Regions from separate parts of the Homo sapiens genome. Here all the other regions are linked to region 2. Evidence: promoter capture Hi-C in 16 types of primary human blood cells and fetal thymus (Javierre and others, 2016). All regions are on one chromosome and are shown on one strand. The core of a region is centred on a gene start or on the middle of the fragment in contact, and the rest is flanking DNA. Distances in the headings are between cores, read along the strand shown. Region 1 overlaps NDFIP2 (Nedd4 family interacting protein 2). Region 2 holds the start of SPRY2 (sprouty RTK signaling antagonist 2). Region 3 overlaps LINC00377 (long intergenic non-protein coding RNA 377). Region 4 has its middle 60 kb from the start of LINC01068. Region 5 has its middle 11 kb from the start of LINC00377. Region 6 has its middle 78 kb from the start of LINC01068. Region 7 has its middle 97 kb from the start of LINC01068.

Region 1 (3,930 bases), core at 1,082-3,581, 790 kb after region 2:
AATATAAGCTCAAAACATTAAAAAAGTAAAAGAAGCAAATATTCTGAGCTTAAACTTTAAAAACATATTTTTAAAAGTATGAAATGAGTTTTCTATTTTTCTTAATTACTTGCTGGAAATTTTCACGTTAGGTATTATGTCCCAAATAAGAATTCAAACCCATAAGCAGGTCTGACGTAGGTGACCAATGATACTTTACAAAGTAGAAATGAACATAAATTATTTTCAAAAAGATGATATTTTGTTTATTAAAATTAAACCACAATCTGTCTCCTGACATACAAATAACTGAGAAGTTAAAAGATGTTGCAACCCCAACCTAATTTCACAAGTGTTGTTTTCATCTCCAATCTTGAAAGGTTTGTCACATAAACAGTTTAGTGAGGTCACAGTCATGATAATATGCGAATCTTAAACTGATTTTGAAAAGGATGCATCACAGGTTCACACTTCCACATCTATACAACTTTATTAACAAGTAAAATACATGCCAGCATGTTTTATATATGGGCAAGGACATTCCTATGATAATGAATGGCACATTATCATCTAACAATTGACCTTTATCAAATATATGTTTTCATATGACTATTTGAAGAATTAAATAATAAACAACTAATAAATGCTAAAATAACATTTAACAGCAGTTAAAAATATAAAAGCCATTCAGTTTAGTATTTACGATAAGCTGGAATCATTCAAATACAACTATTAAAAAAAATACTATTCCTCTTCTACAGGCCAAATGGTTCATTAGAAAACACTGTGGCAATAATAACTGGCTCCTGCCCTTACCCCAGTTCCATCCCTCAAAGGGCAGTGGAGCTAAGGTAGTTGCTTCTTGGTACAGTCTACAATTATACACAGGATGATCATATAACTTATCCTCCAAATTAGAACACTTTTGAGAGTACGATGAGGCACTATTAAGCTGAGAAAACAGGAATAACCAGGACTCTTTTGAGCAAACTAAGGATATATATTACCTTAGTTAAGTATGGTATCACATTCACTATCATTACTTTTTGCACTTCTTGAAATAGTACATACTAGATGAAAAAAATTATATTTAATGAAGGAACTCTGAATTTTTCTCCAATTGGATATTTTGAACTCCACTTTTCCTGTTAGGAGAGGTTTTACTGGAAATAATATTGTTTTAGCAGGTAAAAATCTGTGAACAACTTAGAAGGCATGTCTAAAATGAAATATATCTTATAGACTCAAAATAGGCTAAAGATTAGTATTTTTTCCATTAAGCAGAGATTTTCATTTTAACCAAATGTAATGGGATTTGTATTTTAATCTAAGTTTCTAAAATCTGTCCTGCATACACTATATAGAAAAGTGTTGTTTTTGCCTTAAAATTCAGTTTATTGCATAAATACATGAAAATGGATTATCCTAGCCATGACTAGCTTATTCATTTACAATAGAAATAATTTGAAATTTTTTTGTATTAACTTCCAATCCCCAGTTCACACTCAAAAATGTTTAGATACCCTAACAAGAGTTTTGATTTTTCAATCTTTAAGGCAGAGTGCAAAGATGATCAAGCATCCCCAAAACACAACAGCAGCTGTTCAAGCTCACAGGAAATGAAGTATGCAGGATTTTATATATCTGAAGGGAACATTAAGTTCTTGAAAATAACATTCTGATTCCCCTGCTTACATGATGAGATTTAAGGCTACCATTGAATTATGCCAATTATAGAGGATTCAGTAATATGTATACTTGAACCTTACAGATTTGGGGGGAAAAGTCAAAACAAAAAGTGAAGTTTTGATGCTGGATCAAAAGTAACATGTATCCATATTCAGAAAACAAGCACATATACCATAAAAGCTAAAATGAAATTTTAGTAAGTCGATGTTTGATAGCTAAGCTTCCTAGTAATTATTTAATTACCATGTAGCAAAGCTTAATTTCATTTAAAAATTATTGAAAGAATAAAGTACAGGTCTATAAGAAATTAATATGAAAGAGATCCAGCATGAGTTTGAATATGTTATTAGTACAGTTTAATTTTAATTAACTTCCAAATTAGGCAACTAAACTAAATATTTTTTCTTTACCCCATGCTACTGTCTTACTTCAAGGGGTGTAACACAGGTACTTTAATACAACAATAAAAATTTTAATATAACAATAAAAATTCTACGCAGGAAAGTAAACTGAATGAGACAAAACAAAAAATAGGCTATATTAGCAAAACAAAACTGTTTTATTTATCAAAGACAATGAAAAAATTAGAAAATACAGAAGAGGTTATAAAGCATAATAAATTTTATTTTTTGGAAATGGAAAAATGTCCCTGAATAGTTAGATGTACCTTTTAGTAGTAATGTCTAATAATAAATAAGAAATCAATTTTATAAGGTCCATATAGCTGTATTAAATAATTTTTAAGTTTAAAAGATAAAATACCATCATTTTAAATGTTGGTATTCAAAACCAAAGATATAACCGAAAGGAAAAACAGATGAGACATAAAATGATTTGCAAGATGGGAAATATAGTAGTTTATGAATGTAAATTAAATTCCAGTTATAATAGTGGCTACACACTCTCACTACACACACAGACCCCACAGTCCTATATGCCACAAACACATTTCCATAACTTGAAAATGAGTATTTTGCATATCTCAGTTCAGGATATGTTTTTTACAAGTTAATCCTAAAGTCATAAAGCAAGAAGCTATTCATAGTACAAGATTTTATTTGCTAAGCTTTACAAATTAAACTCTAAAAAATTATTACAATGATACTGAAAGATATTTTATTGGCCTTTTAAAAGACAAACACAAATGAGAATTATCTTATTTAGAAAATTAACTTTGAAAATTATCTTAAATGAAATAAATATAATATCTAATACAATCTCTTCCTGCAAGATCTCTTAAGATGGGCAATCCTAAAAATGCAGCTTCCCATCTGAAAATCCCTAAAACTAGTATGTCCCTTAAAATAAAATTTATTTTTCTTATAAAGGACATTTGGTATTCCCACATTTTCTTAAAATTTGTCCTAAAACAAATTCTATCTTTAACACTCACGTTTCTAAATATATATATGTGTGTGTGTATATATATGTGTATACATATACACATATATATTTAGTTCACTTAATTTAAAATTAGTGAAAGCTATCTGGACACAATTTCTAAGAAAACATTGCAGAAAGTAAGTTATGCATGGTTATTTACAGGAAGAGTTTTCCTAAATAATAATGTAAATATCATGTTCAAAAATCTGACAAATCCTTTCTAATAATCAGCACTGCAGGTTTCAATACACCTTATATAACAAAAGATGTTTCATGTGTAGAACTGCCAGATGAGTCTAAGAGCCAGAAACTAAATCATTTGACATGGTTAAGAATTTCATTTTTATTATACTAAATGTCAGGTCAGAAGTCAATGGCATTTACAAGCTGGAAGACTGTTTATCCACTCAACTCTTTCAATTATATCAAACACTGATTAACCAAATGTGACTGGACTTAACTGCTACAACTTTATGGTTTCTATCAAGTATATGCAAATATCTTAAATGGGCACATATGCATATGTGCAAAACAAATGAAATATAGATACTTAAAGAATGAACAGAAATGGCTTGTAAGCAAAAACCACCCTGCCATTCAATTTCGAAACTCCGTCTTTTCTTCACTAATTTGTCTTCTGTTATTAGTAGTCTTCTATTAAAGTTGTAGGTTTACAGATGATCTGGAAATTTCACATTGGTATAAGAAAGGAATGTCGGGTTGATGCAGTCTGGAGACAAAGAAGGAATTAGTCTTAAAATGTATTAAGTTGTCTTTATCTAAATCATAGTATAATACAACACATTTTATAGAAGAATTATATTAAGTATATAATATTCTCTTCATTAAAGTCTACATATCAGAATACATTCTAAAGTG
Region 2 (3,775 bases), core at 121-2,620:
CAATATTAGGCGTGTGTATGCGCAAGTTTTAATTTTCCACTGGTGCTCCCACGTGAAGGCACATTTCTTAGTAAATGAACGGCAGCTAGGACAGTGCATATGTATGCATTTTCTATCTTTATTTTTTTTTTGTAAATGGGAAAGAATAGTGCACCTTCAACATGGACAACAGAATCTTGAGAAATGTTCTAGGTGGCAAGAAAAGTGGGAAATGAAGGATGACTTTTAGTTAAGGGAAGAAGGAAATCTGCAGTGAGCCAACCCTTCCCTCCCCCCCGCCCCCCCATTTCGGAAGCCCATGCTGTCGCCCTGAGTAATCTTGTTCCTGTCTATTAATGAATTAAGTTAAAAGGCTTAGACTGTAGACTTTAGCTACTGCATGAAGCAAAATAGTAAGGAAGCTCTTCAAAAAGCCTCCATTCATAGATAACCCCCCTTAAAAATGAAATTCTAATAAACGGAAAAACTACAAGTCGACACAATCAAAAGCAAATCCCAGCAAGAGCAGAAGGTACTTGAAACTCGAATCTGCATTCCGTTCCTCCCGTACAAGGCTCGGAGGTGGGGGAGGCGGTTTGTGCTGGTGCCTGGTGTATAATCGGGTTAATCCAGTAGACAAAGAATAAACCAATAGCCCTCCCACCTCACTTCCCGCTCCCCTTCCCCTCCCCCTTCTTCTCCCCCCGCCCCAGCCCCCGTCACCCGCTCCGCAAAGGGGAACAGAAAAGGGGAGAGGTAGACTTGAAATGGATTCTGGATAAAGTCTTAAAACCTGCAACTTGTTTTTCATGCTAACACTGCGTGGCCCAGATTAGTCTTAAATGTTCATTCCCCTTTCCTGGTGGCAAGGAGAAAGTTCCCTAAGTCAGCTCGAGCCTCTGGCTCGTCCTCATTGCCTCTGGGCAAACCTTAAGGTCAGTGTTTCCTTGAAACTAGATAAACTGACCCTGCAGTGCCCAGCCCGGCCCCGCGGGCGCCCCGCGTGACGGCGCTCGGGCGGCAGGACCGGCCTGGGGACGCGCGGGGCGGCGCGGTTGCCCTTTTGAATGCCTCCTGCGGCTCGGAGCGCTGGCGGGCGCTGGAGTGTGAGTGAATGTAGCCCCGCGGAGCCAATGAGCTGGGACCGGATGCGATATATCCTCTGGGACAACAACTGCTCTGTTCCGCCTCGGATCCACATGACGCCATTTACTGCTGCCGCGGCCGCCGCAGAGCTCCCTGCCTCCTCCGGAAAGGCGAGGGCGCAGGCCAACGGCGAGCCCCCCCCGGGCGGGCCCCAGACCCTCCTCCTCCTCCTCCTCCTCCTCTTCCTCCTCCTCCGCACCCACCGCCCCCGCCTCGGCCTCGCTGCCTCGCCTCCACAACGCCCAGTCTGCACCGCCGAGAGCTGCGCGCCGCAGCGCTAGCGGAGGAGAGGGGCCGGCGGAGCGCGCAGCGCCCAGGCCCCCGCGCCCGCCCGGCCCGGCCCGGCCCGCGCCCCCGCGCCGCCTCCGCTACGACGCGGCCCCGGCCGCACCACTTGGCGATCTGGCTTTAGGTTCTCCGTAAGGCCGTTTTCTTTTCCCATTCGCTCATCTGCCAGGAAAAGGGACTTGCCGTTGGCGCTTCGGCCTCTTGTTCATTGAGAAAAAAGAGGAAATACTCCGCGTGCGCTTGTAGAAGGGGAGTCGTCTCCAGCTCCGAACCCCGGAGTGTTCATCAGCGGGGAATCTGGCTCCGAATTCTCTTTTTTTCTCCCGCCGATTGCTCGGAAGTTGGTCTAAAGCAGAGGTTGGAAAGAAAGGAAAAAAGTTTGCATCGAGACTGGATTTATTTGCACATCGCAGAAAGAAGAGAATCCAAGGGAGAGGGGTTGGTGCAAAGCCGCGATCACGGTGAGGCACGTTTGGCTCTTCCCCTCCTGGCGCCGCGGCCGGCGCGTTGTGGGCAACATGGAGTAGGTGCAGCCGGACCAGGAGTTGGGTCCGTCTCTCCCCGAGCCTCCCTTTCTCAAATCCCGCAGGGTCTTCGCGAGGATCCGGGGCGCTCCCCGCGGACCTGCCTCGCCCGGGGCTTGGGCTCGGCCTGCCTCTGCGGGGACTTCTGTATGCACCCCGTGCAGTGTCCCCGACAGGCGACCCCGCGCGCCCGCGCTCTAGGGGGTTGGGACGGAGGACAGCTAGCCTGAAGTCTGCTCCCAGCCGTGCACTGGCCGCGAATTCGGCGCTGAGAGCGGGAGAGGGAGAGAAAAACACTTTGTATTTTCCAGGTTGCCTTTGCAGGCGCCCGCATTTCTAACCTGTTCTTCCTCTTGGTGGAAGGCAAAGTCCAGGGAGAGGCTGTCCCTAGGCGGGGCGCTGGTGGGGCTGGGGGACACAGGTTGCCCGCCTCGGGGGCAGGAGACTTCCAGGGTGAGAAAAAGGCAGGGTGCCGGGTGGAGGGAGTGCCCGCCTCTGCTCCGTGTGGACAGTCTAGCCCGGAGCGGGTGGGAGCGTCGCCCTGCCTGGCGCCGGGTCTCTGCGGTTCGGAAGTGCAGCTCTCTCTCTTCCGTTCTTCGTGGTCAGCCTGGGTCACACTTATTTTATTTTTGGAAGCTCGGGCTGACCCAGCGCAGGAAGAAAGTCATCAAGCGGTCGCGATCATTTTCCATTACCTGAAAGTAGGTGGCAAAATAGGCAATTTTTTATTTCCTTTTGTTGTTGTTGTTGCTGTGTTTTAATTTGGATTCTTGTGTGTTTTTTACAAAGCAGTTTCTGTGTCCGTTTGCCCCACCCTAGAGCTGAAGTTCTTTTCCCCTAATCCTCAGTCTGATCACACACTGTTCTTAATGGGGGTTTCAAAGCACTTTCAAAGGGGAGGGGGGACTGGGAAAGAGAAGAGGGGCGGAGGTAGGGAGTCCAGCTTTGAAGAAGGAGGCCAGGGATCGGATCGGCAGAAATCACTTAAAAAATAAAAACAAAAAAGCCCCCTTTTATTTCAAAGATGCTACTTTGACTGCAAGCAAATCTGCACCGAAAGTTTACAGCTCCGGGAGCTGGGTCCTGCGCGCCCGGAGTGAGCAGTGGGACCCTGGAAAATGCCCTTTTTTTAAAAAGCCATTTTTCTTTCACTTTAAGAAATATGATATCTTTTTTTTTTCTCTCGACCCAAAAGGAGATAGGCGTGTGCAGATTACAGGCAATGCCCCCTTCGGTCAGTGCAGCGTGGAGTCGCCGTGTGTGCGTGGGTTGGACTTGTGCGTCCTGGCTGCGTGTCTCAGGCAGGGCTTTCGTGCTCGCAGTGTCGGGGTGGGAAACCTGTGCCGGATGTCCGAGGGGCTTTGCAGAAAGCCTGGCAGTGGGCGGCGTGACCTCTGCCTGGGGGCGGAGTGGCTCCTTGGGGCTGGAAGGCAGTTCTCTTGAGTTGGGGGAGATCTTAGCTGGGGAGAGGGAGGCGGGGGAAGTGTGCTCCTGCATTTCGTGACACGTACCCTTCGGAGGCGCCCGCGGCCCCCGCCTGTCTGAGTCTGGGGATCGTAAGCAGGGGGGCAGCCTGGCCCATGGACAGCGTCAGTCCGCCTGGAGAAACTCCCCTGGGGATCGGCTGTGTCCCACCTGCTGGGGACGGTGTTGGGGCACAGAGAGGCGATAAACTAAGTGAAAGCAAAGAGCAGCGTTGTCTTCTGCCATTCTTTTGGAGGTGAGGAGATCCGGTTTCCAGCACTGCCTTGCTCCGAATTGGGAGACGTTTGTCACCTGCCTTGTTCGCTGTGGCCTCTATTCTAAAGAGCGGAGATCGGATAAAGGTCCACTTTTGC
Region 3 (4,308 bases), core at 1,023-3,522, 680 kb before region 2:
CGAGACCATCCTGGATAACAGGTTGAAACCCCATCTCTACTAAAAATACAAAAATTAGCCGGGCGTGGTGGTGGGTGCCTGTAGTCTCAGCTACTCGGGAGGCTGAGGCGGGAGAATGGCGAGTGAACCCGGGAGGCGGAGCTTGCAGTGAGCCGAGATCACGCTACTGCACTCCAGCCTGGGCGACAGAGTGAGACTCTGTCTCAAAAAAGAAATAAAAATTAAAAAAAACAAAAAAACTCTGGTGATGATAATAAAGTGTACAATTTCATGGGTCCCTACAAAATAGTAAGGGCACAGAGGACAAAGTAAGAGGTAGGAATCCAATAGTGGGAGTGCATTTATATATGAAGCCTGTAATATATTAAGTAATGCAAGGCCCTTAACTTGCTCTATTTTTTTAATCAAGTGAGTGGAGAAATAATTGTGGTGGGTAAAAGAATCTCAAGAAGATACACTCAGAGTGAGTTTTAAAATGTCACTAGCAGACAAAACAGGTGGGATTCCTTGGGATGATCATTCTAAATACATGAGTATATTGCAGACAATGGCTTTGGGGGAAGCAGGATTAATTTAGCTTATTTAAAGCTTAAGAAAAATGCTTAAGGGGAAAGTAAAAAGAATGACAGTATTACTGGTAAATGACTCAGATTAAGAAGGGCAGTCATGCATCTATGTTCATTACTAATTTGGAATTGACAGTGGCATTGGAATTAGATAGTAATAGCTTTGAATTTTTAGATTGTTTTGAACAGTATATTTATTTTAATAATATTGATTCTTCCTATCCATGAGCATGGGATGTTTTTCCATTTGTCTGTGTCATTTACAATTTTTTAAATCAGTGTTTGTAGCTTTCCATGTAGAAGTTTTTCACCTCCTTGGTTAAATGAATTGCTTGGTAATTTTATTGTGGCTATTTTAAATGGGATTGTATTCTTGATTTGGTTCTCAGCTTGAGCATTTTTGGTGCATATAAATACAGCTGATTTCTGTGCATTAATTTTGTATTCTGAAAGTTTACTGAAATTGTTCGTCAGGTCTGGGAGGCTTTTGGAGAAATTTGTAAAGTTTTCTAGGTAGATCTAGTCATCAGTAAACAGAGATAATTTGACTTCCTCTTTTCCAGTTTGGATGCCTTTTATTTTTACCTCTTGCCTGATTGCTCCGGTTAATACTTTCGATATTATGTTGACTAGGAGTGGTGAGACTGAACATCTTTTTCTTGTTCCAATTCTTAGAGAAAATGCTTTTGACATTTTCCCATTAACTGTGATACTGGCTGTGGGTTTGTCATATACAGCTTTTATTATTTTGAGTTATGTTTCTTCAATGCCTAGTTTGTTGAAGGTTTTTATCATGAAAGGATGTTGGATTTTATCAAATGTGTCTTTTTCTGTGTCTATTAAGATAATCATATGGTTTTTGTTTTTAATTCTGTTTAGTGGTGTATCAGATTTATTAATCTGTATTAAAACACCCCTGCATCCCCAGAATAAAACGCACTTGATTATGATGAATTATGTTTTTGAAGTGCAGCTGGATTCAGTTTGCTAGTATTTTGTTGAAAATTTTTGGAGGTTGTTCATCTGGGATTTCTGCCTGAGGTTTCCTCTTTTTTTTCTTGGGTCTTTGCCAGATTTTGGTATCAGGAAGTCCCTCTTTGCCAATTTTTTTGAACCCTTGCAGTAAGATGGGTACTAGACCTTTCTTGCATAGCTGGTAGAAGTCAGGTGTGAGTCTATCTAATACAGGGCTCTTTTAGTGAGTAGATTTGTTATTACTGATTCAACTTCATAGCTCATTATTGTTATGTTCAGGATTTAAATTTCTTCCTGATTCAATCATGGGAGGTTGTATCTAGCAATTTATCCTTTTTCTCCTGGTTTTCTAGTTAGTGAACATAGAGATGTTCATAATGGTCAATGATAATCTTACATATATGCCTGTGGTATCAGTTGTAACATCATGGGTATCATTTCTGGTGCAGCTTATTAAAATATTCTCTCTTTTCTTCTTCATTAATCTAGGCAGTGGTCCATCAATTTTATTTCTTCTTAGGCACGCTGGCTCCTGTTTCTTCCTTCATAGCCACTCATGAATGCCCACCTCAAGACTTTTGCATTTGTTCTCCCTCTACCTGAGAGATTCTTCCCCAGGTCTTCTTGTTGGCTGACTACATCTCCTCTTTCAGATCACCCAATTCCACCACCTTTTCAAAAAACCAACTTTACATTTTGTTGATACATCATATGATTTATTTGGTTCCGATTTCATTAAGTTCTGCCCTGATCTTTGTTATTTATTTTCTTGTGTTACCTTTGGCTTTGGTTTGTTCTTGTTTCTCTAGTTCCTTGAAGTGCAATGTTAATTTTTTTGTGTTAATGTGAGATCTTTCCAGCTTCTTAATATAGACATTTAGCACTATACACATTCCTCTTAACGTTGCTTTCGCTGTATCCCAGGGGTTACTGTGTAGATGCTGTGTATATATTTTCATTTGTTTCAATTTTTTTTTCTGATTTCTGCCTTAATTTTGTTGTTTACCCAAAAATCAGTCAGGAGCAACCTGTTTATTTTCCATGTCCTTGTGTAGTTTTGAGAGTTCCTCTTTGTATTGATTTCTATTTTTTACACTGTTGTCTAAGAAAATACTTGATATGATTTTGATTCCTTTGAATTTATTGAGACTTGCTTTGTGACCAAGTATATGGTCAATTTTGGAGAATGTTTCATGCACAGATGAGAAAAATGTATATTCTGCAGTTGGTGAGTAGAATGTTCTATAGATATATATTAGGTCAATTTGCTCAAGAGTTTAATTTATATCCGGAGTTTCTTTGTTAGTTTTCTACTTCAAAGATCTGTTTAGTGTTGTCACTGGGGTGTTGAATTCCCACACTATAGTATATAGCTATCTATCTCTTTTTCTTAGGTCTAGTACTGTTTCTTTAATAAATCTGTGTGCTCTGGTGATGGCTGTGTATATATTTAAGATAGTTAAATGTTCTTGTTGAATTAACCCCTTTATCATTATATAATGCCCTTCTTTAATTTGTTTTGTTACGTTTTGTTTTGTTTTGTTTTACTGTTGTTGATTTAAAGTATGTTTTATATAGTAAAACAATAACAATGCCTGGTCTTTTTGGTTTTCCATTTGCATAACATATTTTTCTCTTACTTTGAGCCTGTGGGTGTCATTATTCATTAAGGGTCCTTTGAGGGCAGCAGATGGTTGGGTTTTTATTTTTATCCAATTTGCCAATCTACATCTTTTAAGTGGAGCATTTAGGCCATTTACATTCAAAGTTAATATTGACATGTGAGGTTTTGTTCCTGTCATAGTGTTTTTAGGTAGTTGCTTTGTAGTCTCAATAGTGTATTTGCTTTATAGGGTATGTGTACTTTGTATTTATGAGTGCTTTTATTGTAGCAAGTATCATCTTTTCACTTCCATATTTAGAACTACTCTGAGCATTTTTTGTAGGACCAGTCTCGTTGTGACAATTGCCCTTAGCATTTCCTTGTGTGGGAATGACTTGATTACTCATTTATTTATTAAGCATAGTTTGGCAGGATATAAAATTTTGGCTGGAATTATTTTTCTTTAAGGAGGCTAAAAGTAGGCTCACAATCTCTTCTGGCATGTAAGGTTTCTGCTGAGAAATCCACTGTTAGTTTGATGGGTGTACCTTTATAGGTGATTTGACCCTTTTATCTAACTGCCTTTAAGAATTTTTTTTTTTTTTTAGTGTTGACTTTGATAGTCTGATGACCATATGTCTTGGTGAAGTTTTTCTTGTACATTATCTTACAGGTGTTCTCTAAATTTCTTGTATCTGGGTGTCTACCTCTCTGGGAAGACTAGGGAAATTTTCCTGAATTATTCTCTCAAATACACATTTTTTCAATTTGCTTACTTTTTCTTCTCTCTCAAGAATGCTTTATAAGCTTTGGTCAACTTAGGTAATCCCATATTTCTCTAAAGTTTTATTTATTTAAAAACAATTTTTTTCTTTATTTTTGTCTGACTAGGTTAATTCAAAAAACAGATCTTCAAGGTCTGAAAATTTTTCTTCTGCTTGGTCTAGTCTTAGTAAAGCTTCCAACTATATTTTGAAATTTCTTTAGTAAATTTTCCAATTCCAGAATTTCTACTTGTTTTTCAATTAAATATAGCAATCTCTTCTTTTATATCCTGAATCATTTTTCCGGTTTCTTTGCTTTGATTTTCAATTTTTTCTTGAATCTCATTGTGCTTCCTATTGGATTCTGTATCTGTCATTTTAGAATTTTCATTTTGGTTAG
Region 4 (4,260 bases), core at 1,503-4,002, 710 kb after region 2:
CCTAAAATATCTACCAAAGCTTAAAGATCAAACTGATCATAGCAATTTCCATATTAGCTCAGAATATGTCAAAGCAGAGAGCTACAGAATAAATGCCAAGTTATATTCTAAAAAGTGAGAGGGCAAGAGAAACTCTAAATAGGTTCACTTTGAAGACTGCATAAAAAGCAGATGTCATCAGTAAAGATTATTCCTGAATTTTGTTTAACATGGAGCAAAAATTTTTTTTAATGTTTTCATCCTAATTATATTTTTTCAAAGAGGACACTGACACATTGTTGCTGCTCAGAAAATTAGTGAATGTGGAAATACAAACTCTAATAAAAATATTTTGGCTTCTTTTCAGTCCCTAACACATACTCTAGAGTTCACTTTATGGTTATCAGGAGAAATCTAAGGAAAATAAAGCTCAACAGAACTGCAGAGCATCAACTGGCTTAACCTTGTCAAGTAGGGATGAAGCCGGAAGTGCCATGTGACACTGACTGACAGAAACCAAAACCGATGAGGAAAATACACTGAAGAAAAGATGGCAAAAAGTTAATGAGGTGTGTCCTCTACCATGGCCAAGATCACAGAAAACTGATAGAAGCGTTCTATGTTTCAGCAAACTAGTAAGTTCTAGCAGCCTTTTTTAACCTTCCCACAATCCTGTTTACATAATCGTGTTCCTGGCAATGAGAATCACATGGACAGACATTTCTAATTGGAAAAGTCACATTCCTGATATCCCAATACTAAGGTTATTACAGTTTATAAGTTGTACAGTGGCATATATAAGGTCATAAAGTGGAGGAGAAAAAAAGATTTGTAGACTACAGTGCATTTTTTTTCTCTTCTTTTTTTTATTTTATTTTTTTGAGACGGAGTCTCTCTCTGTCGCCCAGGCTGGAGTGCAGTGGCGTGATCTCGGCTTACTGCAAGCTCCATCTCCCAGGTTCACACCATTCTCCTGTCTCAGCCTCCCGAGTAGCTGGGACTACAGGTGCCCGCCACCACGCCCAGCTAATTTTTTATTTATTTATTTATTTATTTATTTATTTAATTTATTTATTTGTATTTTTAGTAGAGACAGGGTTTCACCGTGTTAGCCAGGATGGTCTGATCTCCTGACCTCGTGATCTGCCTACCTTGGCCTCCCAAAGCACTTTTTTCTCTTTAAGAGACAGGGTCTTGCTGTGTTGCCCAGGCTGCTGGAGTGCAGAGGCAAGATCATAGCTCACTGCAACCTTGAACGCCTAGGCTCATGCAGTTCTCCTGCCTCAGCTTCCTTGATAGCTAAGACTACAGGCACACACCAACACACCCAGCTATATATATATTTTTTAATAGAGATGGAGTCTCACTATGTCACCTAGGCTGTCCCAAACTCCTGGCTTCAAGCTATCCTCCCACCTCAGCCTCCCAAAGCACTGGGATTACAGGCATGAGCCACAGCACCTAGCCCAATTATTGTTAGCCTTTTTGGGTTTTAAGCTAGAGTCATTTTTTAAATTGTGGTAAAATATGCATAACATAAAATTTACCATCTTAACCATTTTTAAGTATACAGTTTAGTAGTGTTAAGTACATTCCATTGTTGTACAATCAATCTCCAGAACTCTTATCTTGCAAAACTAAACGCTGTACCCATTAAACAACTCCCCATTTCCCCACTCCCCAACCCCCTAGTAACCACCGTTCTATCTTCTGCTTCTATGAGTGTGGCTACGCTAGGTTCCTCATTTACGTAGAATTATACAGTAATTGTCTTTTTACAACTGGCTTATTTTACTTAGCAAAATGTCCTCAAGTTTCATCCATGTTGTAGCATGTGTCAGAATTTCCTTCCCATTTAAGGCTGAATAATATTCTGTTACATGTATATACCGCATTTTATTTATCCATTTATTTATTAATCAGCGGACATTGGGGTTGCTTCTACTTTTTGGCTATTGTGAATAACGCTGCAATGGACTAGTGTTTCTGTTTTAATCCCATGCTTAACTGTGTCTCACACCCACATTCATTAAAACAAACCTGCAACCTCAAGTGGCTCACATTCCGCTGAATGGGAAGATTGAGTAACATGGAACGATTAACCACAAAAATGTGATATGCACTTCTATTAAAATATTAAATTATATTTTAAAAGATTCCCCATACGTTATACTTCATGCCTAGAAACTTTTCTTGTTTTCTGCTTTTTTGTTGTTGATATTTGTTTAATGATATGCAACTTCAGTTATATCATTCAAACATTTTGTTAAAACAACTAACACTCAATACCTGTTGGTTGGTCTTGTCAGGATATAAGCCTGTGATACTGAGGAAAGATAACTAACAGTTTCTCTGAAAGAAAAGAAACTTATTACAACAGTTAGCATTATATCCTGAAGTTCACCGAGAATAAAAGGTAGATTTAAAATTATCATTTTAAATACAAGGATACACAAGAAAAGAAGAGAAATACATGATTGGAAAGTTCTAGACATGTAAAGACTAAATGTAACAGTATCAGAACATGGATAAGCATTTTTTTAAAGGCAAATTCTTGCAAAAACAAGTGCAGCAGTTCCTCAAATAATATTGTTTTATTCAATGTCATTTTTTTATAAAGTTAATGAGAGGAAAAAATTGCCTAGAGTAAAACTGGTTTCATTAAATGTTGTTTTACTTGAAGTTTGCAGTTTCTAAGAATATATTGATGATGTTGCGTGAGGACTTACTATATTCATACCACATTAACTCTTGAGCAGGATTGTTGGAATAAACACTGTTATTACTGTTTCCTGTGTGAGAACCATGAAAATATCTGTCAGAAGCAGTCAGTGAGGGAACTGCTACAAGATTCAGGATAGTTGCCCCTGACTACAACATTCAAGTTAGCTTTAAAATTACTTCAATTTTAATCAATCTCATTGTACTTTTGTGGGACATGAAATGAACGTAAAACAAATAAAAGTACTGTTAAAATAACTACTATTAAGATATGAATCAAATGATTAAACTTGAGGTTAAGAAACTATTTTCTCACTGAAGTAGAAACACAGTATTGGTATATTGAAGAGCAAAAATCTGACTGTCACCTTCATTCATTCAAGGGTATGTAGACTTCACAATTTTCAGTTCAGTTTAAGTGTCTCATCAATGGTGACAAATGAACTGACTGTGCAAATCTGAAATCTCAAAAGCCCCCTAAAGGGAAGGGAAACTCATATTTAATAATAACTTTCTTTTACTAGGCAACATAGTAGTTGCCTTTAAATTTTTTCTTATTTAAACCTTTTAACAATTCTTTAAGAAAGGCAAGATTAGCTCCATTTTGCAGGTGAAAAAATTGGAGATCTGGTAAATTATTAAATTGGCCCAAGGTCATAGAGCTAGGCAATTATTAAGCCCCAATAAGTACTTAGCTCTGTTTGAATCTCTAACCCACAGCCTCCTGAACAGTGAACTTAAATTTTAGAAACTCCTCCCCCTATATTACTGCACTAGATGACTTCATTTCAAATGTCTTACTTTTAGCCACACCTTTTTCCAAACACTTCACAAAGTCAAACCAACGGAACCATAAGAATCTAATAAATAATTGTGTGATAAATAAAAGACATGAGATTAAACTGCATGTACAATATTTTCTGAGCAGCTTCATGATTCTAAGTTACTATTTGAGAATGTTGTTTGAGGTTTTCTTTTGCATGTATGTACCACTTGTCATATAGCAAAATCACAAAATAATGTTGTATGAAAGGATATAGCAATCATCTCATTTTGTTATTATCTTCTACATTTAATGACTAAGAATTTATTAAATGAGTAATTGAATGAATATACCAATATGAATAAATTTTATAAACAAAGTGGTAAAATGGCATACCATCTTCTATGGAAGGTTCACAGCAACTCCTCCACGAAACAGAAGACATTCTGTGATTCACAAAATCTTTTTAAAGCACAGAAAATCTGAAAAACGGCCAAGCAAAATCAGACCCGCTATATCCTTTATTGAAAGTTCAGTAACTTAGCAGGTTCCTGCCCATTGAAAGCTAAGCATGTCTTCCTCTTGCCTAAATCTTAATGATGGTGAATCTGTTACTTTAACACGCAATGATAGTTCAGGCTACATAGATGGCCTCCATATTACTTAGTTGTCCCCAGCTTATTTCCCCAATCAATCTGTAGGTACTCATGCTACTAACACCTGTACTTCTTAAGTTAACGTGAGTCCCTGAAAATTACTTGTAAGCCCTCCTAACACTATGTAGAGAAGAACTGTCT
Region 5 (3,987 bases), core at 1,422-3,921, 670 kb before region 2:
AAGACACTACCCAAGACTGAGTAATTTAATAAACAAAGGAGGTTTAATTGACTCACTGTTTCCGCTGGCTGGGGAGGTCTCAGAGAACTTACGATCATGGCAGAAGGGGAAGCAGGCACCTTCTTCATAAGGTGGCAGGAGAGACAGAGAGAGTGTCTGTAGGAGCAAATGTCAAACTTATAAAACCATCAGATCTCATGAGAACTCATGCATTATCATGAGAACAGCATGAGGGAAACCGCCCCAGTGATCCAATCACCTCCCACCAGGTTTATCCCTCAACACCTGGGGATTACAAGTCAAGATGAGATTTGGGTGGGGACACAAAGCTTAACCATATAATTCTGCCCCAGCCCTTCCCAAATCTCATGCCTTTTCACATTTTAAAACTAATCATGCTTTCCCAACAGTCCCCCAAAGTCTTAACTCATTTCAGCATTTACTCAAAAGTACATAGTCTGAAGTCTCATCTGAGACAAGGCAAGTCTCTTCTGCCTATTAGCCTGTAAAAAAGCAAGTTAGTTACATCCTAGATACAATGGGGGTACAGGCATTGGGTAAAGGCTCCCATTCCAAATAAGAGAAATTGGCCAAAACAAAGGCTACAGGCCCCATATGAGTTCAAAACCCAGTGGGGCAGTCATTAAATCTTAAAGCTCCAAAATAATCTCTTTTGACCCCATGACTCACATCCAGTTCATGCCGATGCAAGAGGTGGGCTCCCATGGCCCTGGACAGCTCTGCCCCTATGCCTTTGCCGGGTACAGACTCCACAGCTGCTTTCACGGCTGCTTTCATGGCTGGCATTGAGCGTCTGTGGCTTTTCCAGGTGCATGGTGCAAACTCTCAGTGCATCTACCATTCTGGGATCTGGAAGACAGTGGCCCTCTTCTCACAGCCCCAGTAGGCAATGCCCTAGTGGGAACTCTGTGTGGGGGCTTCCTAATCTTCATCTGAGACAACCTCAGCCTGGACTTCATTGACCATAATAGCATTTTGGTCAAAACCATTCAACAAGTCTCTAAGAATTTCCAAACTTTCCCACATCTTTCTGTCTTCCTCTGAGCCCTCCAAACTGTTCCAACTTCTGCCTGATACCCAGTTCCAAAGTCGCTTTCACATTTTTGGATACCCACTCTTCATAGCAGTACCCCACTTTCTGAGATAACAATTTACTGTATTAGTTCATTTTCACACTGCAATAAAAATACTACCTGCAACTGGGTAATTTATAAACAAAGGAGGTTTCATTGACTCACAGTTCCACCTGACTGGGGAAGCCTCAGGAAGCTTACAATCATGGCAGAAGGGGAAGCTGGCACCTTCTTCACTGTGGATGGGAGAGACAGAGAGAGTGTGTATAGGAGAAAATGTCAAACACTTAAAAAACCATCAAATCCTGTGAGAACTCACACATTATCACAAGAACAGCATGGGGAAAACTATCTCCATGATCGAATCACCTCCCACCAGGTCTCTCCCTCAACACCTGGGGATTACAAATTCAGGAAGAGATTTGGTTGGGAACACAGAACCTAACCATATCACTCTCCTATCAAACAACATAGAGTGTTTAAATGGATTTTTTAAAAAAGATACCCAGTGATCTGTTGCCTACATTTTACCTATGCATGCACACATGGACTGTATAAACAGATGGAAAAAGCTATTCCATGCCGACAGAAACAAGATAAAGCAGGAGTAGCTATACTTATATCAGACAAAATAGATTTCAAAACAAAAAGTCCAGGAAACAAGAAGGTCACTATAATGATAAAGGAATCAATTTATCAAGAAAATAATAACGGCCGGGTGTGGTGGCTCACATCTATAATTCCAGCACTTTGGGAGGCCGAGGCGGGTGGATCATGAGGTCAGGAGATTGAGACCATCCTGGCTAACACAGTGAAACCCCGTCTCTACTAAAAATACAAAAAATTAGCCGGGTGTGGTGGCAGGCACCTGTAGTCCCAGCTACTCGGGAGGCTGAGGCAGGAGAATGGCATGAACCCAGGAGATGGAGTTTGCAGTGAGCTGAGATCGCACCACTGCACTCCAGCCTGGGTGACAGAGCGAGACTCCATCTCAAAAAAAAAGAAAAAAAAGAAAATAATAACAATTGTAACTATATATGGACCCAATGCTAGAGCACCCAAATACATATAGCAAATATTATTAGAGCTAAAGAGAGAGATAGACCCCAATATGATAATAGCCAGAGATATCAACACCCCACTTTCAACATTATACAGATCTTCCAGACAGAAAGTCAACAAAGAAACATCAGACTTAATCTGCACTGTAGTCCAAATTGGACAAAAAGATATTTACATAACATTCCATCCAATGGCGGCAGTATAGACATTGTTTCCTTAGCACATAGATCATTCACAAGAATAGACCATACTTTAGGTCACAAAGTAAGTCTTAAAACATTTTAAAAAATGAAATAATATCAAGCACCTTCTTTGACCACAATAGAATAAAACTGAAAATCAATAATGAAAGGAATTTTGGAAACTATACAAACACATGGAAATTAAAAAATATGATCTTGAATGACCAGTGATTATTTGTATTATATTCTTTATTTCAAATTTATTTCTACTCTGATCTTTAGTATTTATTTTGTTCTACTCATTTTGAATTTGGTTTGCTCTTGCTTTTCTAGCTCTTTAAGATGCACCTTTAAGTTGTGTATTTGATGTTTTTCTTTTTTTTGATGAAGGAAGTTATAACTACAATCTTCCATCTTAGTATTACTTTTTACTGAATTCCATAAGTTTTGGTATTTGTGTTTTTATTATCATTTGTTTCAAGAAATTTTTAAATTTTCTTCTCAACATAATAAAAGCCGTACATAAGCCCCACAGCTACTATTATACTGAATGGGGAAAACCTGAAAGCCTTTCCAGTAAGATCTGGAACATGACAAGGATGTTCACTGTCACCACTGTTCTTCAACACAGTCCTGGAAGTCCTACTTAGAGCAATCAGACAATAGAAAGATATAAAGGGCATTATATAAAGATATAAACCGAATTGGAGAAGAAGTCTAATTATCCTTGTTTGCAGATGATATAATCTTATATCTGGAAAAACCTAAAGAATCCACAAGAGAACTATTAGAACTAATAAATAAATTCAGTACAGTTGCAGAATACAAAATCAACATACAAAAATCAGTAGCATTTCTATATGCTGAAAGCAAACAATCAGAAAAAGAAATCAAGAAAATAATACCATATGATAGCTACAAAATAAAATACCCAGGAATTTATTTAAGCAAAGGAGTAAAAGATCTCCGCAATGAAAACTATAAAATATTGATGTGATAAATTGAAGAAGTCACAAAGAAATGGAAAGATATTCCACGTTAATGGACTGTAAGACTTAATATTTTTAATAAAATGTCCATACTATCCAAAGCAACCCATAGATTTAATGCAATCTCAATAAAAATACCAATGACATTATTCTCAGAAATAGATAAAACAATTATAAAATGTATATGGAACCACAAATAGCCAAAGATATCCTAAGGGAAATAAAACAAAACTGGAGGAATCACATTATCCGACTTCAAATTATAGTACAGAGCTATGGTAATTAAAACATCATGTTTGTGGCATGAAACACACATGGATTAGAAGAAGAGAACAGAGAACCCAGAGATGAATCCTTATGTCTACTGTGAACTCATTTTTGACAAGGATGCTTTGTCAAAAGCATCTTTGTACTTTTTTGACAAAAATTATGTATATTGGAAAAAGTACATTCTCTTCAATAATGTGCTGGGAAAACTAGAGATCCACATGCAGAAGATTGGAATTAGATTCCTATCTCTCACCATTTGATCTTTGATACAAAGATCAAATCAAAATGGGTTAAAGACTTAAATCTAAGATCTCAAACTATGAAACAACTAAAAGAAAACTTTGGAGAAATTCATGAGGGCATTGGAGTGGGCAAAAATTTCTTAAGTAA
Region 6 (4,261 bases), core at 1,439-3,938, 700 kb after region 2:
TGTTACATGAGCCGTCAAGACTCAGGCCTCATCCATTCTGCGGCTCTGCTACCCTTTAGAACTGTGTCATCTTCTGCCTTCAGCAGGAGGAGGACATAGGGAGCATGAAGAAGACACAGCACTGATCACATTGTCCAGGAAGTAACACACATCACACATGGGACCTACCTAGAGGCAAGAGGACTCAGACATGAAGTCTTGGATGGGCAGCCACTGCCCTTGCCCTCTACACCTTGGAAAAGGAGATATATACTCCAAAGGACAGTGAGCCACCTCTTCCACAAGCACTAATCTATAGAGATGAGGCACATGAAGAAAATTATTCCCAAATGCCTCCCCGTTCATTGGATAATGCCTGAAATTTTACAAAGTTTCATTAATTTAAGACTGACCATCTGTTATAAGGCAAACATTCTTCCAACTGTTTATTTACATTGTGAATGACTTTCTGCTCCTATAGAAGAAATTTATAGCATTAAAGGGGCTTTAAAAGAAGAAATCCTGAGACTATGGAGATGAGAGAAGAGTGGCAAGAGAGCTTTGGAATCCCTCTCTCTGAGGTCACCTCAAACCTATAGGCAGAGCCCTGAGACCCCCTATGGATGCTCTCCTCCCCAACTAAACTAAGAGACACTTTCTGTCTCTAGCAGTAGAAAACTCAACAACTCTAGAAACTCATGGTTAGTCACATCTACAGCCAGTCAGGCTCTAGTCCTGTAACCAGGACTAGTACTTGGCCTTTTTTCAGCAGCTGTGACAAAGCCCATGCCTTGAAACTTTTCCTATGACTGGATCCTTACCTCCATATCTGAATAATTACTTAACTTTGCATGGGAATTCTACATATATCAGTCTCATACAAGCTTTGCAATAATTAGTAAGTGAGGTAGGTATTATTATTCTCTTACAAAGATAAAGAATCACAGGGAAGTTAAGAACACACTCAAGTTAATGCAGCTATTACATGGCAAAGCCGAGACCTGAAGTCAGACCTCACGGTCCCCAGCCAATATTCCTTCTACAATGAAATACTGTCCTACTGGATACACCTCTCTCTCTCTCTCTCTCTCAGCCTGAGGCTTGAGGCCCTGCTTGTTGACACAGCCCTCTAGCCTTCCATGTCTAGAGTTCTATTCCTTTAATGTCTTTATTGCACAGATAATTATGGATCAATACTAGGAGCCAAGCACTTGGTTTGTGACAAAACAAACATGCTGCTTCCCATTCGGGGGTTAGCCTACTCACCAAAAAATAAATGTATAATTTCACATAATCATAAGCGCTACAAAAGAAAAGTGGTGCAATAGAAGCAAGCAGGTGGCGGGAGGGCACATAGGGACAGGAAACCTATTTTGAGTGGGGCTGTCAGGAAAACCTCTCTGTGGTGTTGACATTTAAGCCAAGACCTGAAAAATGATGTCAGTGGTGAGAAGAAAGTGATGATATTGGTGGGGTAGGAGTCCCTAGATCAAGAAAGCTTTGACAGTACAAGAAAATGAGAAGGAGGCCAGTGTGCCTGAAGTATGGCAGGGAGGGGAGCAGAGATGCATTTGGAGTAGTGTGCCTGCCCAAACATAGAGGAGTTAGGATTTATCGGATTGACAACTGGGATCCACTGAAGAGTTTTAGCAGAAGAGTAATATGATCACATTTATTAAAAGATTATTCTGGTCTTTAACTCCTGACCTCATGATCCACCTGCCTTGGCCTCCTAAAGTGCTGAGATTACAGGCATGGAGAAACCCTGTCTCTACTAAAAATACAAAAATTAACTGGGCGTGACGGCATGCACCTGTAATCCCAGCTACTCAGGAGGCTGAGGCAGAAGAATCGCTCGAACCCAGGAGGCAGAAGTTGCAGTGAACCAAGATTGCACCACTGCACTCCAGCCTGGGTGACAGAGCTAGACTCTGTCTAAAAAAAAAAAAAAAAAAAAAAAAAAAGTGAAAAAAAAAAGATTATTCTGCAGGTGCTTTGGAGAATAGAGGGGAAGAAGGCATGGATGATGGCAGAGAGGCACAGCAGTGGCCCAGGGATGAGATGATGCCTTGGAATATGGTAGTGGTAGACAGAGGAGTTAAATATGTAGAGTTGAGATGCACTTGGGAGATAGAAGTGCTGATGGATGAGCTTTGAGGAGCAAGAGAAAGGAACACATTAAGTTTGGCTTCTCAGGTTTTTGCCTTTTGCAACAGGACCAAGCTCAGCTTCTGAACTGGGAAAGGATGAGACTTTGTCATTTTATAATGACCATATTTCTCAATGCTAAGATGCATTTTTTTCCTGCAATTTGGTGTTTCTGAAATCGATATGTCTTACAATCAATATCAAAGGAAAACTCCAGAGAAGCTGTGACAACATTGTCTTCCCTTACAAATATGTGAAGTTGGCCCAAGGTGGAAGACATCTATCCATTCATCAGATTGTCACCTAGGCTATTTGCACTGACTGCACAATACATGGTGCATCTTAATTTGCTTTACTTAACATGTTTGCATAGAGATTACACTACAAAGCAGCCTTGAAATGATAAGACATTGTATATGCAGAAGAACAAGAAATACATTAAGTAAATAAAGTTGGAGAACACAAATTTACCATAAATGAAGCACATATTTGCCCCTGAAAAACTTTTTTTTTTACCATAAAACAATGAGCTAGTGTTTTTCAGGCTCTGAAAATTAAAGATAGCCACAAGAGATAAACTGGGGCTCATGGCAGGGTAGTAGTGAGGCTGAAGGAGCTGTCATTAAGATATGTACAAATGTTACCTAGGCTGGGCACCGTGACTCATACTGGTAATCCCAACACTTTTGGAGGCTGAGGCAGGAGGATCACTTGAGTCCAGGAGTTCAGGGCTAGCCTACGCAACATAGTGAGACCCTGTCTTTACAAATAAATATATAAAAATAGCTGGGCACGGTGGCATGTGCCTATAGTCCCAACTACTCAGGAGGCTGAGATGGGGGGATCCCTTGAGCCGAGTTTGAGGATACAATGAGCTATGACACTGCGCTCCAGCCTGGGTGACAGAGCAAGACAGTCTCAAAACAAATATATATACACATACACACACACATACACACACATACACACACGTATGCGCATATATATGTATATATATGTATCTTGTCATATACCAGGTAATATATTAAAGGCAATACCAATTGTTCAGTTCTGAGTATTTCATAATAGGATTTTCAATGATAGGAAAGATTAACTTGAGCCTTTCAGACGCTAATTATCTATCTGACTAAAACATTCAGGTGACTTTCGAAGAAGCTGTTTGAATGCCAGTGAAACGAAGTTTGATTAATTTAGATAAGAGGATATGCCAAACATTTCAATTGCACTTCAATTTTCCCTACTTTTTTTTTTTTAAAGAGCATTTTCACTGTGTTGTGGGGAGCAGAGGGTATTCCAAGCCCCATCTAAAGAGGCATGTGGTGTCTGACATCTAGGCCTTGCCCAGTAGGCAATCCAGTGTGACAAGGAAAGACAGAACTAGCTCTTTGTATTCCAGCAGGTTGAATGCAGCCTGATCTCTGAGTGCATGACCAGAGCTAGAAAGGAGTAGCCAACCTGGGTCCTAAAACTTCAGACTGAGGAAGCAACCCCTGGCCCTGAGAAGTGGTATCTTTCATCAGGTATGACACTTATGGAAGAATCAGCCTCACAAACCATGCTGACCTGTGCCAGGAGCCAGGCATGGAAATAAATAAAGACCAAGCAAATGAGAACAGATAAAGGCTATTTATTCAGAGCTATAGGGAGGGAGTTAGCCACCATCATTTGTCTGTAAACAGAAATTCAAAGGAGTGGAAAAGCATTGTAGTGGGGAAAAAAGAGAAGGCTTCAGGTGTGCCCTGACTGGAGGCTATTGGCATGGGAAAGCTTTAGGCGGGCTGACTAGAAGCAAAGCACCCTCTGTAATTGGTTAGGGGTGTATATTAAGTTTTCTTGGGTTGGTCTGAAGTTGAATGCAGAGACAAAAATAAGAAAAGATGTTACTAATCAAGTCCTGGGCATCTGTAGCTGATTGTTGCAGGGGCTATTGTTTAGGTTTCTAGGCTGGTTGCTGGACATACTGGTCTGACTTCCTGAAAGTCTGACTTATAGATAGGCTGGTGTTCTGGGCTGGTAACTGTAAATAATTGAGTTCTAGGCTGGTTGCTGCAGATTGTAGGTCAGAGCTCGATTTCTTATATGTTCTGACCATTCTCAGTTTGTATATGTCAGTCTCTCATAGGGCCACAGAGAC
Region 7 (4,100 bases), core at 525-3,024, 680 kb after region 2:
ATGCCTCTAATCTCAGCAGTGTGGGAGGCTAAGGTGGGAGGACAGCTTATGTCCAGGATTTGAAGACCAGCCTGGGCAACATAGGGATACCCTGTCTTTACAAAAAAAAAAAAAAAAGAAAGAAAGAAAGAAAAATTAGCTGGTTGTGGTAGTATGCATCTATAGTCATAGCTTTCTGGGAGGCTGAGGTAAGAGGATTGCTTGAGCCCAGGAGGTGGAGGCTGCAGTGAACTGTGATGGCTCTAAGGCACTCCAGCCTAGCATAGTGACAAAGCAAGATCCTGTCTCAAAAATAAATAATAAATGATGTCTCTGAGAGCCAATCAGCACTTCAGGATTTAGAAATGGAGCCTTGATACTTGAATGCACTGTTTCATGATGCAGTATTTAGACTTTATATTCATAAAATCCTTCTGTACCAAGTTATGGATTGGTTCTTTTCAAGGAGTCCTATTAATCTGCTGGACTGCGTCTGTTGTGATTTTAAGAAGATTTACTCTAACAACTATCTTGCATTAACTCTGGAAATCGTTATAGTAATTCCCTGTGGTCAGGAGGGAATACGTGACTGTGAGGTTGATACCCTCAGCAGAATTCAATGAGGATCACTTCATTATGTTACCATCCCTTGGATAGTTGGAGTGGTTTGGCTCAACATAAATAATTTTTTTGTCTTTAATATTTGCTTAAGTAGAACCATCATCATTATGCCATTAGGTTGAATTTTAAGATGTAGGCTCGTTTCGTTGGCTTTTGGCGCATTTATTTTTGGCTTTCTTAGGAATTAACCGCAAACCATTAGTGAAAACAATAAAGCAGCCAGGAGAACTGTACAGAAAGCCTGGGCAAAGACAGTTGAGGAGGTCTTTAGCAAAGTCTCCCAGATTTTTGCCTGAGTTACCCAAATACATTGACAAATATCTCTATTTTAAAGTCATTAAAAAGGAAAAATATCTGGAACAATTTCTGCAGAAATCCCTCGGACTTTCCTCATACTCCCCCTAAGCCCATGCCACAACATGTACCACTAGACACACATGACAAATTACCAAGACCACACCATTTAAAAGTAAAACAAGATTAAGTTTGGTTGTCCATAAAGAGGAAAGATCTGGAAGCACTTTTTAAACTAATCTTCCACTACCACCGAGATTCTGATGAGTGCAGGAGGGAGAGATGTTAGAATATATTGGGCATGGGAAGGCTGTCTTTGGAAGAGTCTGACCCAACCTCAAGTGGGAGGGGGCATATATGGGAATTAGAGATGAAGATGAGCATGTGTCCTTTGAAAAATCTACCCAGATAGTTTGCCTGTAGGAGTTAGATATTTCCTCTTTAGTACTTTCATACCTCTTTGAATCAGATTCTATTTTAATCACAATATATTGTTGTCCTTCTTCCTCATTACATTAAAATCCTCAGAGATACAACTAACGGCATCTTACACATTGTTCTATCCAAAGTTCTGGGCGTACTGCCTCCTCCCCCGCCACCCCACTCAACTTTTAAGTTCGGGGGTACATGGGCAGGATGTGCAGGTTTGTTATGTAGGTAAACATGTGTGATGGTGGTCTGCTGCACATATCATCCCATCACCTAGGTATTGAGCCCAGGATCCATAAGCTATTTTGCTTGATGCCCTCCGTTCTCCCACAGGCCCCAGTGTGTGTTGTTGCCAACTATGTGTCCCTGTGTTCTCATCATTCAGCTCTCACTTATGAGTGAGAACATGCAGTGTTCGGTCTTCTGTTCCTGCATTAGTTTGTTGAGGATAATGGCTTCCAACTCCATCCATATCCCTGCAAAGGATATGATCTTGTTCCTTTTTATGGCATACTGCCTTTCACACACTGTGTTCAATACCCATCCCTAGGAGAAGTGTATTTACTGTAGAAAGACTATTACAGAAGTTTTTACAAATAAAAGTAATTATGTAGTGAAATGAATTTATTGGAACAACTACATTGGTTAACACATTTTACCTAGGGAAAGAATGTACTCATTTGAAGATTTTCCATCAGGTTTTTTACTTAATATCCATGTAGTTATTTTTGTAAGCCAGTTGCTTATATACAGCCAGTTGCTTATGTGCAGCATACTACATACATTTAGCACCAAAGAATCATGTCATGCTATCACTAGGAGGTTCTCTAACTAATATCATGTCAGAGAAACTTTCAAGCATGCTTTAAAAATGCTTATGTAAAATGTTTCCCTGGCCGTGATATCATGTCAAGTCTAAATATAGAACTTGCTGTCTGTAGTGTTTTTAGTCTTTGGTACTGTTCCCTTTAGCTATAGCTGTGCAACTTGTTTTGTGAACCAGTCAACCTGTTACGATGATGTCAGTATTGAAGTTATATAATAGTTTTCCTTCAAAGATTAAAGATACATGACCAATATTATAAAATATATAGATCTGACAGAATGCTTTATAATTAGATGAAATGTGCTTTGGGAAAAATTCTAATAAAACGTACCAAATAAATAATGTGACAAACCAAGCCCATGAAATCATCTCTTACTCTGTGTAACTCTTTTCGCTCGGTATCATGATTTTTTCAGATACGCAGAACTCTAATGATCAAAGGTTTATTAGTAAGACAGGAAAAGGAAGGGAGACAGAACCAAATCGGTTAATACTATATAAAGCTACTTTCTATCACATTTAAAGTATATTAGGAAAAGAAAATGTATTGATTAAATAAGTTATCACTAGTTATTCTATTACTGTTAAACAGGAAAGCTAGACTTAAAGTAAGCTGACATAGATCTGCCGATGAGTACATAGCAGGGGAAGTGGCTGCATGCCACAGTCTGCCATCTGGTGACACCTCATTGAAAGAGAGATAAGGAGCAAGAAAAATTATTGTGAACTTTCTTTATCCCGGATAGTTAGGATGTTTACTTCCACTCACCTTAATGGCTACATATCACTAGTTCCCAATATCTGACCTAGAGTAAACAGACTTTTTATGATTTATTTTACTACATTTCAGTTTCTCATGAAGACTCTATTGAGTATGAATTCTAAAAAGATTGGTCCTTAGGCAACAGGAGCGCTCAATGCCCAGTTAGAAAGATAACACAGCTGTTTGTTCAAACACTTTTCTAAGTGATCCGCAGTGGCAGCAGGAAAGAAAATGATGTCTCCTAGAAAGTAACAACTTGGCTAAAGTTAAACTAGCTTCAATAAAGAACATAAGAGAGAAAGATTCAAAAGAATGCTTGAAAAACTATCCTAAGAAGCTCAACAACCAACTTTACTTATTTAAATGTCTAAGAAGCAGACATTTGGGTGTCTCTTTAAATCTTCTAAAATAAAATGATGATCGTAGGTTAAATACAATCTGAAGTGTTAATTAAATGATTTTGTTTTTAAACCCATATTTTAAGATATATGTAATTTATTGCTTGTTTGCATTAAGTATAATTTTTTTTTAAGGCAGGATCTTGCTTCATCACCAAGCTATAGATCAGTGGCACAATCATAGCTAATTGCAGTCTTGAACTTCTGGTCTCAAGCAATCCTCCTGCCACACTGCCTCAGCCTACCAAGTAGCAGGCACATGCCACGATGCCTGACTAAATTTTTTTTTATTTTTTATTTTAGAGACAGTGTCTTTTTCTGCTTCCCAGACTGGTCTCAAACTACTAGGCTCAAACAATCCTCCTGTCTCAGCCTCCCAAAGTATTGAGATTATAGCGTCAGCTACTGCACCCAGCCCCTGAATGCAATTTCAAAGAAATATCTGATGTCAAAAATGTGTGACAAATTTTTTAACAAGCCTTTTATTTCCCCTAAGGCTTAGTAATGGTTGTTTTTCCCCAGTAAAGGTAGATCTAAATGTATTCTAACCTCAGAATAAATTCAATTAACTTAATCCATGGCCAAATGATTTTCCCATTCTTTCAGCAGATATATTCTCTAAAAAAGCAAGCATACTATAAATCGCTAGGCTTCTCTCTGGCCAAGGTGCTGCTACTTTAAAATAACCTTCTCTAGGTTTGTCCTAAAAGTCAGCCTTGCTGCATGAGAAAAGAGAATGGAGTCTAAGTAAGTAGATCTGGAGTGAAACCCAGATTTTCATCACCTACTC

The links. The method cuts DNA at HindIII sites, captures the fragments that hold promoters and counts their contacts. A CHiCAGO score of 5 or more calls a contact.
Region 1: a contact is called between a fragment that was not itself captured here and the fragment with the promoter of SPRY2 in region 2, in 1 of 17 cell types (endothelial precursors). The highest score is 5.8, in endothelial precursors.
Region 3: a fragment that was not itself captured here is called in contact with the fragment with the promoter of SPRY2 in region 2 in 6 of 17 cell types (endothelial precursors, megakaryocytes, naive B cells and 3 more); the score reaches 10.3 in endothelial precursors.
Region 4: a fragment that was not itself captured here is called in contact with the fragment with the promoter of SPRY2 in region 2 in 1 of 17 cell types (endothelial precursors); the score reaches 5.0 in endothelial precursors.
Region 5: a fragment that was not itself captured here is called in contact with the fragment with the promoter of SPRY2 in region 2 in 3 of 17 cell types (endothelial precursors, megakaryocytes and total B cells); the score reaches 8.5 in endothelial precursors.
Region 6: a contact is called between a fragment that was not itself captured here and the fragment with the promoter of SPRY2 in region 2, in 1 of 17 cell types (endothelial precursors). The highest score is 10.1, in endothelial precursors.
Region 7: a contact is called between a fragment that was not itself captured here and the fragment with the promoter of SPRY2 in region 2, in 4 of 17 cell types (M0 macrophages, M2 macrophages, M1 macrophages and 1 more). The highest score is 6.0, in M0 macrophages.

Annotation. Positions count from the first base shown.
Region 1 is chr13:79,552,367-79,556,296 of GRCh38, reverse strand. NDFIP2 (Nedd4 family interacting protein 2) reads right to left here. Exons shown (of 8, transcript NM_019080.3): 8 at 220-3,781. Among named protein-coding and RNA genes, the nearest start is that of LINC01068, 12 kb to the left of the region's middle. The HindIII fragment of the contact is 811 bases long and covers 1,926-2,736 here.
Region 2 is chr13:80,338,721-80,342,495 of GRCh38, reverse strand. It overlaps SPRY2 (sprouty RTK signaling antagonist 2), which reads left to right and starts at 1,370. Exons shown (of 2, transcript NM_005842.4): 1 at 1,370-1,874. RefSeq lists silencers at 953-1,002, 1,233-1,422 and an enhancer at 3,517-3,566. The HindIII fragment of the contact is 9,098 bases long and covers 1-3,775 here.
Region 3 is chr13:81,022,214-81,026,521 of GRCh38, reverse strand. All of the region lies in intron 2 of LINC00377 (long intergenic non-protein coding RNA 377), which reads right to left. Among named protein-coding and RNA genes, the nearest start is that of LINC00377, 6.0 kb to the right of the region's middle. The HindIII fragment of the contact is 3,363 bases long and covers 591-3,953 here.
Region 4 is chr13:79,624,878-79,629,137 of GRCh38, reverse strand. No RefSeq gene overlaps it. Among named protein-coding and RNA genes, the nearest start is that of LINC01068, 60 kb to the right of the region's middle. The HindIII fragment of the contact is 5,462 bases long and covers 22-4,260 here.
Region 5 is chr13:81,005,400-81,009,386 of GRCh38, reverse strand. No RefSeq gene overlaps it. Among named protein-coding and RNA genes, the nearest start is that of LINC00377, 11 kb to the left of the region's middle. The HindIII fragment of the contact is 2,757 bases long and covers 1,293-3,987 here.
Region 6 is chr13:79,642,865-79,647,125 of GRCh38, reverse strand. No RefSeq gene overlaps it. Among named protein-coding and RNA genes, the nearest start is that of LINC01068, 78 kb to the right of the region's middle. The HindIII fragment of the contact is 2,417 bases long and covers 1,480-3,896 here.
Region 7 is chr13:79,661,794-79,665,893 of GRCh38, reverse strand. No RefSeq gene overlaps it. Among named protein-coding and RNA genes, the nearest start is that of LINC01068, 97 kb to the right of the region's middle. The HindIII fragment of the contact is 5,202 bases long and covers 1-4,100 here.